Linked DNA regions of Homo sapiens: all the other regions are linked to region 1. The links are contacts of gene promoters, found by promoter capture Hi-C in blood cells and fetal thymus (Javierre and others, 2016). All regions are on one chromosome and are shown on one strand. The core of a region is centred on a gene start or on the middle of the fragment in contact, and the rest is flanking DNA. Distances in the headings are between cores, read along the strand shown.

Region 1 (4,331 bases), core at 574-3,073:
CTGAGGTTGGAGGATTGCTTGAGCCTAGAAAGCAGAGGTTGCAGTGAGCCAAGATTGTACCACTGCACTCCAGCCTGGGCAAGAGAGTAAGACCCTGTCTTAAAAATAAATAACTAAATAAATAATGTTCGGTAGTCTCTTCTCACGCCTGCCTCACCCAGATGGAATTCAAATAGTTTATCCTCATCATTTTACTCCATCATTTATGGATTTACATAGCTGATATGATCTTGTACAGCCAACCTGTATCCACTTGCCTAACATGATGGCTGGAACCTAGAAAACATTCAGTACATGTTACTTTGAATGAATGAACTAATGAGCATTTGCTCTCTTCTGTAATAATAATATTATATCCGACATTGTGTATGTCATGCCCTATGCTGAACTCTTCATATTCACCATCTTACTTTATACTCATGATAACCGTATAGGTTGACACTATTATTAATTTTAAATTTGATACTGTGGCTTAGAACAGTTAACTTGCTCAAGGTCACATAGCAACCATTCTGGCATTAACAGTAGATCCAATTTCAGACCCAATTTTCTTAACCACTATACTTTACAACTTTCCTTCTATCTTTATTAATAATAATCAGTTCTATGTATTTAGCACTTACCATGTTACATGGTGCAAAATATTTTACATTATTATTTCCCCAAACAGCTCATTTATACCCATTAGTAGGTATGATTTCCTCCATTTCCCATCATTATGTGACCTTGGATAAGATACTTGACCTCTGAAACTGAGTTTTCATCTATAAAATAAGGATGATCCGAATATGCAGGGTTTCTGTGACAGTTCTACAGACTATATGTAAATCATCTAGCACAGTGCCTGTGTGTCCTGGAAACAAAATGCACATGCCCTATCCTGAAATCATTTTTGCATGAATTCAATTTAATTCATTAAATATTATTTAGACAAGTGAATAGTTTGCAAGGCAGTATCTTAGGCAGAAATATCTGCCTGAACGCTGAACAAAATGCCTCAGATCTCTTTCAGCCTGAGCTAACTGGAAGCAACTCTCTTACAAAATGAACACAGGTTAGTTTTCAAAAGGAAGGAAAAGGGTCTCTCTGGTGGGCACAGCCTAGAAAGGCCAGATGTAGTCAGGGCGCCTCCAAAGGATGATTCCAACTGCCCAGATGCATGCAAGTGTACATTTTCCCGATAAAAAATCAGCACACATGGCTTAAGAAGTAGATTGTGATTTTTTAAATTGATGTATAACATACAATAAAGTACTCTAATCTTAAGTGTACACTAGTTGATTGTTTTTACATATGGATACACCTCTGTAACTCCACCCTGATCAAGACATGAAATGTTCCCCCTAACCCAGAGGGGTTTATAATCAGAAAAGAACATCTAAAATCAGAACTGAAAACCGGAAAGCAAGTAAAGAACTTCGAAAGCTGGGCAACTGGGAAGCTGGATTTGGGGAAGGGTATTAGGCAAGAATAAGACAAACCGGACTTGTCTTCATTTTAATGGTGAATGTAGAGTACTTCTACGTGCTCACATTCATTACGCCCGTCGATCCTCACAATGACTCTGCGGTATAGTAGAGACTTAATACCATTTTGCATGTGAGGAAACAGAAACTTGTTCGGGGTTTCCGAGGAAAACACCTCCACCTGAAGCCGGAGAGAGAAAGAACTGGGTCTCCAAACCTTGCTCAGCAAATCCAGCCACGTGGCAGAGGGACAGGGAAGAGCCTGGCGTCAGGTTACCAGGCAGCGCCCCTCTGCTCGGCCCACTGGCAAGCGCTCCCAGCGGCAGGTATAAAAGCTCAGGCTGGCAGTCCTTGAACACTGGTGCTGAACCCCGCCGCGCGCGCTTTGAATTTCCCAGCCGCTAAGCGCCTCTCCTGGTCGGTGTCCCAGGCAGAAAGGTGCAGAGACCCATCTGACGCAGGACTCCAGGTATTTTAGGAGGGACCCATCGGCTTGCTTAATTCCCTGGGGGATTCGTCTGAGGCTCTTTGCCTCTGCAAGGGGAGAACCAGCCACAGTTTCCCGGAAGGAATAACAATTACTTTAATTCTAGCTGAGGACTAGACTGCTATGGTCCAAAGAGTCAGGAAACGATTGCAAGGCAATCGTTGGCACAGAGAACAGAGCGACTGAAGTTACAATCCAGCATTTTGTGAATCTCTGCCTTAGGCCAGCCAGGGCGGAGAGGGATTAAAACAAGCTCCGAAGTGTGTATTACAACACAGTTGAGATAGGACAAAAGAAAAACAGTTGTTTTTCGCTCACTGAAAAAATAGTTTGCAATAGCGGCAAGCAAGAGCAGTTTGCCTTGTTTCGGGAAAGGCAGGAAGAAACACCCCGAAAGTATTAATAGGAGAAAAGGAACAGGATTTACTGCACCTTGCGGGACTCGCTCTGACGATCCTTGTGCCTTTGTGCACTGCAGGTAGACAAGCTCCAGCAGAGAGTGGCCAGATGTGGTGCCTGGAGCGACTCCGCTTGGGTCCTGAGTGCCTTCGGCGGAGCGGAGACTGGCTTCTCCCGGGTCGGGCCCGCGGAGCCAAGTCTCGCACCACCGCCGCGTGCGCAAATGTGCTCACTCCGGACCGCATCCCTGAGTTCTGCATCCCGCCACGGCTCATGCCCCGCCTGGCCTTGGCTGCGCTCCGGAATTCTTGGGTCGAAGAAGCAGGGATGGACGAGGGCGCCGGCCGCACAGACTGGGACCCGCGCTCGCAGGCCGCGCTGTCACTGCCGCACCTGCCCCGTGTGCGCACCGCCTACGGCTTCTGCGCGCTGCTCGAGAGCCCGCACACGCGCCGCAAGGAGTCGCTCCTGCTCGGGGGCCCGCCCGCGCCCCGGCCCCGGGCCCACACCTACGGCGGCGGCGGCGGCCCGGACGCCCTCCTGGGGACCCTGCGCGTCCCGCGAGCTCCGGGCCCGGCGACCCCCGCGGCCCCCGGCTGTCCCCGCCCGCCCCAGGACGCGCTCGCCCGGCGGCCCCGCGGCTGCCGCCTCCTGCGCGTCCCCGACGGGCTGCTGAGTCGCGCGCTGCGGGCTGGGAGGAGTCGCCGCCTGACCCGCGTCCGCTCCGTCTCCAGCGGGAACGAGGACAAGGAGCGCCGCGCGGGCTCCCAGTCCCCGGCCCGGGCCCCCTCCACGAGCCCGCCGTCGTCCCGGGTCCCGTTTCCCGAGCGCCTGGAGGCCGAGGGCACCGTGGCTCTGGGCCGCGCCGGCGACGCCCTGCGCCTGGCCGCCGAGTACTGTCCGGGAACCGGGCGGCTCCGCCTCCGGCTGCTCCGCGCCGAGAGCCCGGCCGGAGGCGCCCCCGGGCCCCGAGCCGTCAGCTGTCGCCTCAGCCTCGTCCTGCGGCCGCCGGGCACCGCGCTTCGGCAATGCAGCACTGTGGTGGGGCGCAGCCGCAAGGCCTCCTTTGACCAGGACTTCTGCTTCGACGGCCTCTCGGAGGACGAAGTGCGCCGCCTGGCCGTTCGAGTCAAGGCCCGGGACGAGGGCCGCGGCCGGGAGCGGGGCCGCCTGCTGGGCCAGGGTGAGCTGTCCCTGGGCGCCCTCCTGCTGCTCTGAGGGCCCAGCCCTCCCCGGGGCGCTCTGCCCGGGGGACTCCGGACACTGACAGCCGCGTGGTACAAAATAAACGTGTATTTGTTGTTCTTATCAGTCCCGTTTCAGTACAACACTGGCAGAGATGATTCTAGATTAACTATCCCAGTAAAAGATATGATATTTTCCATAGATACCTCCAGAATTTTTTTCAGCAAATGGAATGGTTCTACAGTGTTTCCCAATATAGACAGCCATTTGCATACCATATGTACCACACACGCCTAGGAAATAATGAATCACATGAAGTGTTAGAACTAGAAAGTGTCTTGGCGATCTGTTTGCTCCAATCACCTCATTTTAAAATTGGTGCTTTCCACAACATGCATGGAGACCATCTTGGAGCATTTACTTTTGAAGCATTTTGTTTAAGACCCCGGATAAGAAAATGAGGGCAAAAGAGGTGAAGTGACTTGTCCAAGATCAACAGTGAATTATTAGTTGGAACGCCAGCCTGATACTCCTAGCTATATCTCACTGGAAAAGCATTGGAGAAAATGAAACCATTTTAATATTCTAAGCTTAAATAATAGTTATAATAGGCTAGGTGTGGCGGCTCACGCCTGTAATCCTGGCACTTTGGGAGGCCGAGGCGGGCAGATGGCTTGAGCCCAGGAATTTGAGACCAGGCTGGGCAACATGGGAAGACCGCGTCTCCATAAAAAATACAAAATTTAGCCGGACGTGGTGGCACGCACCTGTAGTTCCAGCTACTCTGGGGCTGA
Region 2 (4,331 bases), core at 920-3,419, 97 kb before region 1:
TAAAAACAATAAAAAATTAAAAATACAAAAATTTTTAAAATCAACATGGTGTAACAACTCTTTTACATTTACAATGTATTAGGTATTAGAAGTAATCTAGAGATTTAAAGTATATGGAAGGCTATGCATAGGTTATATGAAAATACAATGCCATTTTATATAAGGAACTTGAGCACCATGGATTTTGGTACCCACAGAAGTCCCAGAATCAATGCCCCACAGGTACCAAGGGACGACTGCATTTGACTAAAGCATTAGGGAAATATTAGGGAATTTTAATTACTGTAGATTTGTCCATTCCTACATGCCTCAAATACCTGAGCAAACAATATATACACTGAAATGAATAAACAATCAGAGTTTCTGAAAGAACTAACTTTACATCCTATCATTTTTATTTTTATAACCTGGTGTTTCTTGTGGTATATGACAATCAGAGTTTCTGAAAGAACTAACTTTACATCCTATCATTTTTATTTTTATAATCTGGTGTTTCTTGTGGTATATGAATACTATTTAATAGAAAGAACAAGGCCTTCAATAACATATGATCAGAGATAAACTCTTAAGTTTTGTCATTCATTAAATACAGGATATTCAGTAAGCCACTTAATCTTTATTTAGCCTTTGTTTATAAAACAGGAATAATATTCCCCATATCAAGGGGATTTTTAGAGACTCTCTGAGGCAAAAGGTAATATTAATTAAGAGCACAGACCCTAGGGCCACATTTCCAGGGTTTTAATCATGGTTCAGTCAATTACTAGCCCTGTGACAATTAGTAAATTATATTAATACAATCAGTCTGTGACTTAGTTTACTTACATTTAAACCATAGATTATAACACTGCCTACCCCATAGCACTGCTATAAGGATTAAATGAGTTATTACTTGTAAAGTGCTTACAACAGTGTAGCTATTATTTATTATAAATACAATATAAATGAAAGTGTTTCAGATACTCAAAAGTCCTATCTTTATTATAGGCTATTATTTCTATTTTTATGGGTATTACCTTCAATTTCATGATAATCCAAGCTGATTTTCTTTAAATAAGATACCACAGTTAAGTCAAATGTTCTCATTGTGGCCTCTGTTCCTAACTGAGTAACATTAAATACTAGAATTGTATCTTCTTCTTTCTGCTGTTTAGTAAATTCCAAAATCACCTAAAAGAATTAGAGTCAATGAAAAGTTGATAAGAAGTCTGAATCATACTTAAAATAATGAAAACAAAATCTTTCTCCATACACATCACCATGAGAATAGTAACTTTGCTCATATCCTTCTGCCACCATAGCAATTTAATATAATTGGAAATTACAAAACTTAAATTCTATTGTTGAGAATATAAATACATTTATAAAAAAATCATGACAGAATTTAACTTCATTGTTTACTTTTTCTAATTTAGTAAAATAGGAATGTATAGATTCTTCCTAAATATGATTTTCTTAAACCTGTATTTCAAAGCAAAAATCATGTTTAGTAATTTTTTTTAAAGTATCCCCATTAAAGTAGAAAGTAAGACAAGATGTTCTCTATCATACTACTATTTAAGTTAACTCTGGAAATTATAGCCTGTATATTTAGCCAATAAAAAATAAAACGTGGTAATTTTTAAAAGATGTAAGTGCTTTTGATATTCTAATCAAAAGGTGTAGATCTTTGTCTCCACCCTTTGAATATGGGCAGGCTTGTGAATGCTTAAATCAATATAGTAGAAAGGAACTGATACTATAAGGACTTCCGGTGTCATAAAAGACCACGAAACTCCTACCTGGGAACACTCATACTGGGGGAAGCCAGCCACCATGTAAAAAGTTCAACTACTCAGACTACCACGGCTTTTACCATGCTGAGAGGCCATAAGTAGGTGTTTCAGTCAATAGTCCCAGCTAGCTCCCAGCCAATAGCCAGTATCAATTGCAAGCCTCATAAGTGAGCCACATGGACATCCAGCTTGAGGCTTCAGATGACTGCAACCCCAGTCAACATCAGAATGCAACCGAATGAAAGACTATGCACAAAATTACCCAGGTGAGCCCTTCCAAACTTCCTAACCCACAAACCTGTAAGCAAAATAAAATAGTTGTTTTAAGCTATTTAACTTGATAGGCAGCAATAATAACCAGAATAATATAAATACTGAAAAAAGGCAAAAAATATTATTATTAGCAGATGTTATAATTACATACTTAGGTAACACTTTAAAAATACTTAAAGAAGAGGCCAAGTGCGGTGGCTCATGCCTGTAATCCCAGCACTTTGGGAGGCCAAGGCAGGCGGATCACTTGAGCCCGAGAGTTCAAGACCAGCCTGGGCAACATAGTAAAACCGAATCTCCACAAAAAATGTAAAACATTAGCTGGGTGTGGTGGTATGTGCCTGTAATCTCAGCCTCTTGGGAGGCTGGGGTATTCTGTTATAGTAACAGAAAACAAATTAAGACATTCTTTATCACCATGAAGTTTACATTCTAGGGAAAGTTGGAGAAAATGAAGGTTGCTGTCTTGTCTTGGGTGGTCAGATCTTTCCAATAAGATGACAATTGAACAAATACCTGAAGTTAGTTTAAAAAAAAAAAAAAAAAAAAAATCAAGCCATGCAGGAAAAGAGTGTTCCAGGCAAAGGAAATAGCAAGCACAAAGAATGTGCTTTGGTATACAGAAGGAAAAACATAAGACAAGTGTAAGCTCCATGCGGCAAGAACTTAACTCACTGCTATTTTCCAGTACCTAAAATAATGTCTGGTAATAATGGCACATGATCAATACCTATTGAAGGGATAGATGGAATATGGCTGAAGCAGAGTGAGCAAGGCAGGAAAGAACTGGCCAGTCATATGAGGTGTTACAAATGTAAGGCCTTGTAGGCCATGGAAAGGACTTAGTCCTTTACTTTTAGTGACATTTGAAGTCAGTGGAGGATACTGAGCAGAGTAGTAACATGATCTGACATTCCCTTTTATTTTTATTTTACTTTATTTTATTTTAGAGACAAAGTCTTGCTCTGTCACCTAGGCTGGAGTGCAGTGGTGCACTCTCAGCTCACTGCAACCTTTACCTCCCAGGTTCAAGCAATTCTCCTGCCTCAGCCTCCCGAGCAGCTGGGATTACAGGTGCCCACCACCACGCCTAGCTAATTTTGTATTTTTAGTAGAGATGGGGTTTCACCGTGTTGCCCAGGCTGGTCTTGAACTCCTGACCTCAGATGATCCACCCACCTCGGGCTCCCAAAGTGCTGGGATTACAGGCGTGAGCCACCATGCCCGGCCTGACATTCACTCTTAAAGGATCAATCTGGCAAATGACAGAACAGAGTACCTGATGGAAGCAAAGACAGTTAAGAGGCTATTGCAAAATAATCCAGGGAAGAAGATTACAGTGACTTAGACAGTACAGTAGCAGCAGAAAGGAAGAGCAATCATCTGAATGCATTTTGAATTTAGGGTCATGGGATTTAATGATATTTTGGATGTAGTATGGAGAAAGAGAGAAGTTGAAGAAGGCTAACAGTAAAGAACATACCTTTCTCTAAACAAATACCAATAGTACTTAGGTGTGTACACACAGTTAAAATGTAGTATTTCTGACATTATATTTTAGGACATGCTCTCACTATGGCACATGAAACAGTCAATAAGGAACACCTCCATTTTCTATCCTTTTTGTTTTATTATCAAAGCAAGACAAATTTTTTATAGAAATCTGGAATACATGTAAAAGTAAGCAGGCATGTATAAAAACCTGTAATCTCACCACCCAGAGATGAACACTGTCTGTCATTTATCAAAGAAAACATATAAATATAACTTCATATGGAATCATAATATCTTTGGTATTATAATCTTTTTGTTTTCCCAAATAATGACATACCGTGAACATCTCTCCATGTTTCCTTTTACCACATGACTTTTAAAGGCTGTAAACGTATGTTGGAAATTTAGGTTGTTTACATTTTTCCAAATCATAAACATGATAATGAGCAATATTATTTAGCTTAAAAGTGAAAAGTTTAAAAAATTAAAGTAGGCATGTCATAAAAATTTTCTGCAGAAAAGTAAGTTCTAATTAAAAGTCTAAGCTCTTCCAGAATAAATTAGATATGCCACAGATCATTCTTACATCAGTTTTTTTAAAAGCATTTCATTGTTAAAAATCTCTGTGTGTGTGAGAGAGAAAGAGTGTGTGTGAGAGTGTGTATGTGCATGTGTGTTGGGCAGCAGGAAAGACAGAGTACCACATTTTTAATATACTTGACATTTGGGTCTAGCTTGAGGATAGCTTACAAGATAGTGACAGCCAGAATATATCTATTTATAGACAAA
Region 3 (4,331 bases), core at 1,262-3,761, 73 kb before region 1:
TTTAAATTTGACATAAATATTATTTCACAAACAAAAAAATCAATGTTTTATTTTAGTCTAAGTTTTATTTTAGATAAACAGGAATATTCCAGCCTGATGTATTTGCTTATATATTTACTATACTGAGGTAATTTATTTCAAATGTATTTCAAAATAAAATTCAACAGGGAAGATATAATTTACACAGTTTTTTTTTAACTTAACACTGTACAATAAGTTATTTGACTTGGAACTTACTTTCAGGAATCAATGATTCTTCGTCCTTTTTCTTAGACTCTTTCTTACCCCACAACCCACTAAACCAGCCTCCACGTTTCTCGCCTGTGTCAGCAGACTTTTTCCTTAATTTTTGCCCAGACCGAATCACCTGAAAAATAAAAATTAAAAAATTTACTTTAAGAATGTTGCCCTCTTCATTTTCAGGTGTAGCCTGGGAAAAAAAAACAATGGTTCTTTTTTTTTTTTTAACGCTACGTAACATTGCACCAGTCAAGATCTTAAATGATGCTCACAACATAATTTAGTTAAATGCAGTCTCCCTATTAGTTTATTAATACTTCTCACACCAACTGATAGCATTTTGATAAGGCTGCATGTTATGAGCAATATAGTTAAGGTTTCAGGTAAAATACTTCTAAGCAATGTGACTTCCAAATTCTTCCAAATTTTTAAGTTAAGAAGCCACCAGAACTGCATGTTTATAAAATGAAAAGTTCCTTGAAAGGAAACACACCCAAAAAAGTATTAATTTAAAACAATTATATTTCAGAATTCATATACAATGCTGGCTTGCTAACTAGGACAGTGGCAGAAGGAGGGATATAAATTAAAATAGTCCTTAAATCTAATTTCACCCTCTTTTCTCAACAAATCCTGACTTGATTTTCTATCACTCCTTCTCTTTGCCCACTTTTCAGAGAAATATGGATGAATAACCAAAAGGCAGAATACAGGGATAAACAAAATAAAGGGGATAAGTAATTTAGATTATATGTTCTCATTCCCTGAATAAGTAAATTTCAATAATTTTTCCACTTAAAGTATTTGAAATTGGTAGTGAATCGGTAACATATTGTAAGCCTCTGTGTGTAATAAAAAGTGGAATAATACAAAAGAGAAGATAAAAGTAAAGAGTTGAATTCTATAGTAAAGAGAACAGGTTTGATTGGTGAATGTAAAGACTAAGGATGGGCAAAATGTTAAACTTTTGTCACAAGCTAGGGATGAGTATATACATTTTCAAGCCCTGTTTGAAACTGCAAGATGAAAGTAAATGACAAATCAGCTACTGTGGATACCACAGCTCAGTGGTATTCAATCCTTGCTGCACAAAAGAATCATCTAGAAGCTTTATGAGAAAAAATGCCAAAGCCAAAGCCCCACCACACAACAATTAAATCAAATCTTGAGAGAGTGGGTTCTCTCTCAAGAAAGAGGTATTTTTTTTTTAATTCCCCTGGTGATTCTAACATGCAGCCAAGGTTCAGAACCACTGAGATGACAACAAACTAGTTTCCTTCAACAGCAGAGATCATGATAAAGGGAATTAACTGCTTCAACAGTTTCACAAGTAGATAAAACCGAGCTTTTTTGGAAATGACACCCAATTAAATGTATATCATCTGAGTTTTTCCACTTTTAAGAATCTTCTATGAATTCTTTTAGGGAAAATGCAACCAGAAACTTCAAGTTTGAACCTCTCTTAGATACTGAGACTTAATAAACAGATGAATTCATGAACAGTTTTTACAAATCTAAAAGCAGAAAAAGCTAAAAAGCATTTGGATATTTTATTAACATCTCTTTTAACCAAACTGATAGCTTTAAGTTTTAAAAGGGCAGGCACTAAATTGTATTTTTTCATTGTTACCATATTCTTAGCTACCATAAAAATTATTCTTTATAAAAATAGATAATATATTTTTTTACACTTTGGGGTAAAGAAGCCATTTTATTTTGGAAAAAAAAATTAACTGAAATTAACCTTTTTAAAATATCCTAAGAGAAATCAAGATAGTATGGCGACAAACCCCAACATTCAACTTCCTCCCAAGTCTCTACCTAAATATCTGAAAACCTTTAAAAGAAAGATAAAGCCATTATTAGCATTAGCGTTGAAATCTTAAAGGTGTGATCAGCATGCTACAAATTTCAAGGAATTTAAAAATAAACTGAAAATTTTACACATAATAAAGAGAAAAAGAGATGAATTAGGAAAGCACACAATCAAAAATACTAATTTCAAACATAGAAAGGCTATGAAGAAAATGAAGTAACAAAGAACAGTGAAGAAAAGTTTTCCTACGTTTGTCAATTACCATTTAAAAATAAATAAGAATTAATATTTAAAAATATGAGAGCTGTCACAGAACTATACACACACATCATACCAATGTCAAATTCTTGGTTTTGGTATTGTACTATATTATGTAGATGTAAGCACTGGGAGAAACAGGTGAAGGGTACACAGTACCTCTGTGAACTATCTTTGCTACTTATTGTAAACCTATAGTTATTTCAAAGCATATATATATATATATGAGACCAAAAATAAATAAAAATATACAAATGAGACCTAAGATGAAGACGGATGCAGAGCGCTTTCCCTTTCCCTCAATTACCCCCTTGGTGCCTTCACTTCCTTCTCTGTCCAACTAAGTTGCCCATGGTAAATAACTTCAGCCAATCCTCCGCCTACATTTTAAACTCAGGCCCTATGTACTTTCCATTACAATGAAAAAAATCAATGTTAGATAGATCAAATTGCCTTCTCTTCTACATCCATCCTTCTTTGTCTACTGCATCCCAATATTAGTTCTCTTTCTTCACTTTTTAAGCAACTGTAGCTGGTACTAAGAATACACATTTAAGCTAAAGCAACTTAAGTCATGGAGGATTGAAATTGTTATCCTCCGGTGATTCATTCCTCTCTTTCATAGGAACAATCCCCAGCAGTAGCAAATACCTTTTAAAATATTCATACTTTCTGACCTAATAACTTGTACCTTGGGGAATTTGCCTGTGAGAAAATAAGGGATGTTTGAGAAAATGCAGAGATAAGGCTATTCATTGTAGAGTCACTTACAATTAAATATAGCCAGTGAGAAACAGTGAAGCAAATTCTGGTATATGCACAGAATGGAATACTATTCAGCTATCTTTTTTTTTTTTTGAGATGGATTCTCACTCTGTCACCCAGGCTGGAGTGCAATGGCATGGTCTCGGCTCACTGCAACCTCCACCTCCCGGGTTCAAGCGATTCTCCTGCCTCAGTCTCCCAAGTAGCTGAGATTACATGTGTGTGCCACCACACCCGGCTAATTTTTGTATTTTTAGTAGAGACAGGGTTTCACTATGTTGGCCAGGCTGGTCTCAAACTCCTGACCTCGTGATCTGCCCATCTCAGCTTCCCAAAGGGCTGGGATTACAGGAGTGGGCCATCACATCGGCCTCTATTCAGCTATCTTAAATGATGTCAGATAAATGATTCTGCTGACATTGAAAATGGATACTACAATTTTTTTAAAGAAAGAAAAGCAAGTTACAAAACCTTCTCTTGACTCCACATTGTCCACCACTTACTGCTCCATTTATCTGCTCTGCTTACAGCAAAGAATCATACTGTTCCTACTCACTGTCTCCCATTCCCAGTCGTTCATGCTCTCTCATTCCTATCAAGCTTCTGCCCACATTATTCTATAAAAATTGCTCTTAAGTTACTTCTTTATTACTAATTTCAGTGAAAGTTTTAGTTCCATGGTGGCATAAGCCATCTTCAACCCAAATAAAACTTCTGAACAAAATATAAAAAAGATCTACCCGAGACTTTGAAAAGTAAGCAAAGCAGGCAAATAGTAGAAGGGGTCACAATTTGGAGAGTGACCTGCACAAGACTGAGTTTTCCATGACGTTTGTTTTTCTCACATGTTGTGCCCACCCCATTCCACCCCACCACCATAATCTCCCATTTCTAATGTTCTTGCCCTTGAGCATGGGCATGACTTGCAACTAGTTTCTAAACAATAAAGTATGGCAAAGGTAATAAAATATACTTGATTCTGTGTACAATGTGTATGTTATATACACAAGACTTTAGTGACCATCCTGCTGCAGTTTCTCTCTTCTTTTGAAGAAGAAAGCTGCCATGTTATGGTTGTCTATGTTGGGAAGCCCATTAGGCAAGGAACTGAAGATGATATTTAGAAGCTGAGGGCAGCTCTAGCCAGAAATCAACAAAAAGCTGGAGCCTTCCATCCCACAGCCACGAAGAGCTAAATTCTGCCAAGGAAAGTGGATCCTCCATCAGTCACGTTTCAGATACCATAGTCCCA

Evidence for each region. Contacts are between HindIII fragments. The CHiCAGO score rates a contact against its expected background, and 5 or more counts as called.
Region 2: a contact is called between a fragment that was not itself captured here and the fragment with the promoter of C2CD4A in region 1, in 6 of 17 cell types (total B cells, naive B cells, activated CD4 T cells and 3 more). The highest score is 7.0, in total B cells.
Region 3: a fragment that was not itself captured here is called in contact with the fragment with the promoter of C2CD4A in region 1 in 2 of 17 cell types (total B cells and naive B cells); the score reaches 6.1 in total B cells.

Annotation. Positions count from the first base shown.
Region 1 is chr15:62,065,154-62,069,484 of GRCh38, forward strand. C2CD4A (C2 calcium dependent domain containing 4A) reads left to right here and starts at 1,824. Exons shown (of 2, transcript NM_207322.3): 1 at 1,824-1,935; 2 at 2,432-4,331. The coding sequence starts at 2,461. The coding sequence ends at 3,570. RefSeq lists enhancers at 1,478-1,647, 2,048-2,563 and silencers at 1,637-1,931, 2,794-2,843, 2,974-3,113, 3,164-3,653. The HindIII fragment of the contact is 6,406 bases long and covers 1-4,125 here.
Region 2 is chr15:61,968,283-61,972,613 of GRCh38, forward strand. VPS13C (vacuolar protein sorting 13 homolog C) reads right to left here. Exons shown (of 85, transcript NM_020821.3): 28 at 1,017-1,170. Among named protein-coding and RNA genes, the nearest start is that of VPS13C, 90 kb to the right of the region's middle. The HindIII fragment of the contact is 5,335 bases long and covers 1-4,331 here.
Region 3 is chr15:61,991,436-61,995,766 of GRCh38, forward strand. VPS13C (vacuolar protein sorting 13 homolog C) reads right to left here. Exons shown (of 85, transcript NM_020821.3): 17 at 238-367. Among named protein-coding and RNA genes, the nearest start is that of VPS13C, 67 kb to the right of the region's middle. The HindIII fragment of the contact is 2,331 bases long and covers 1,347-3,677 here.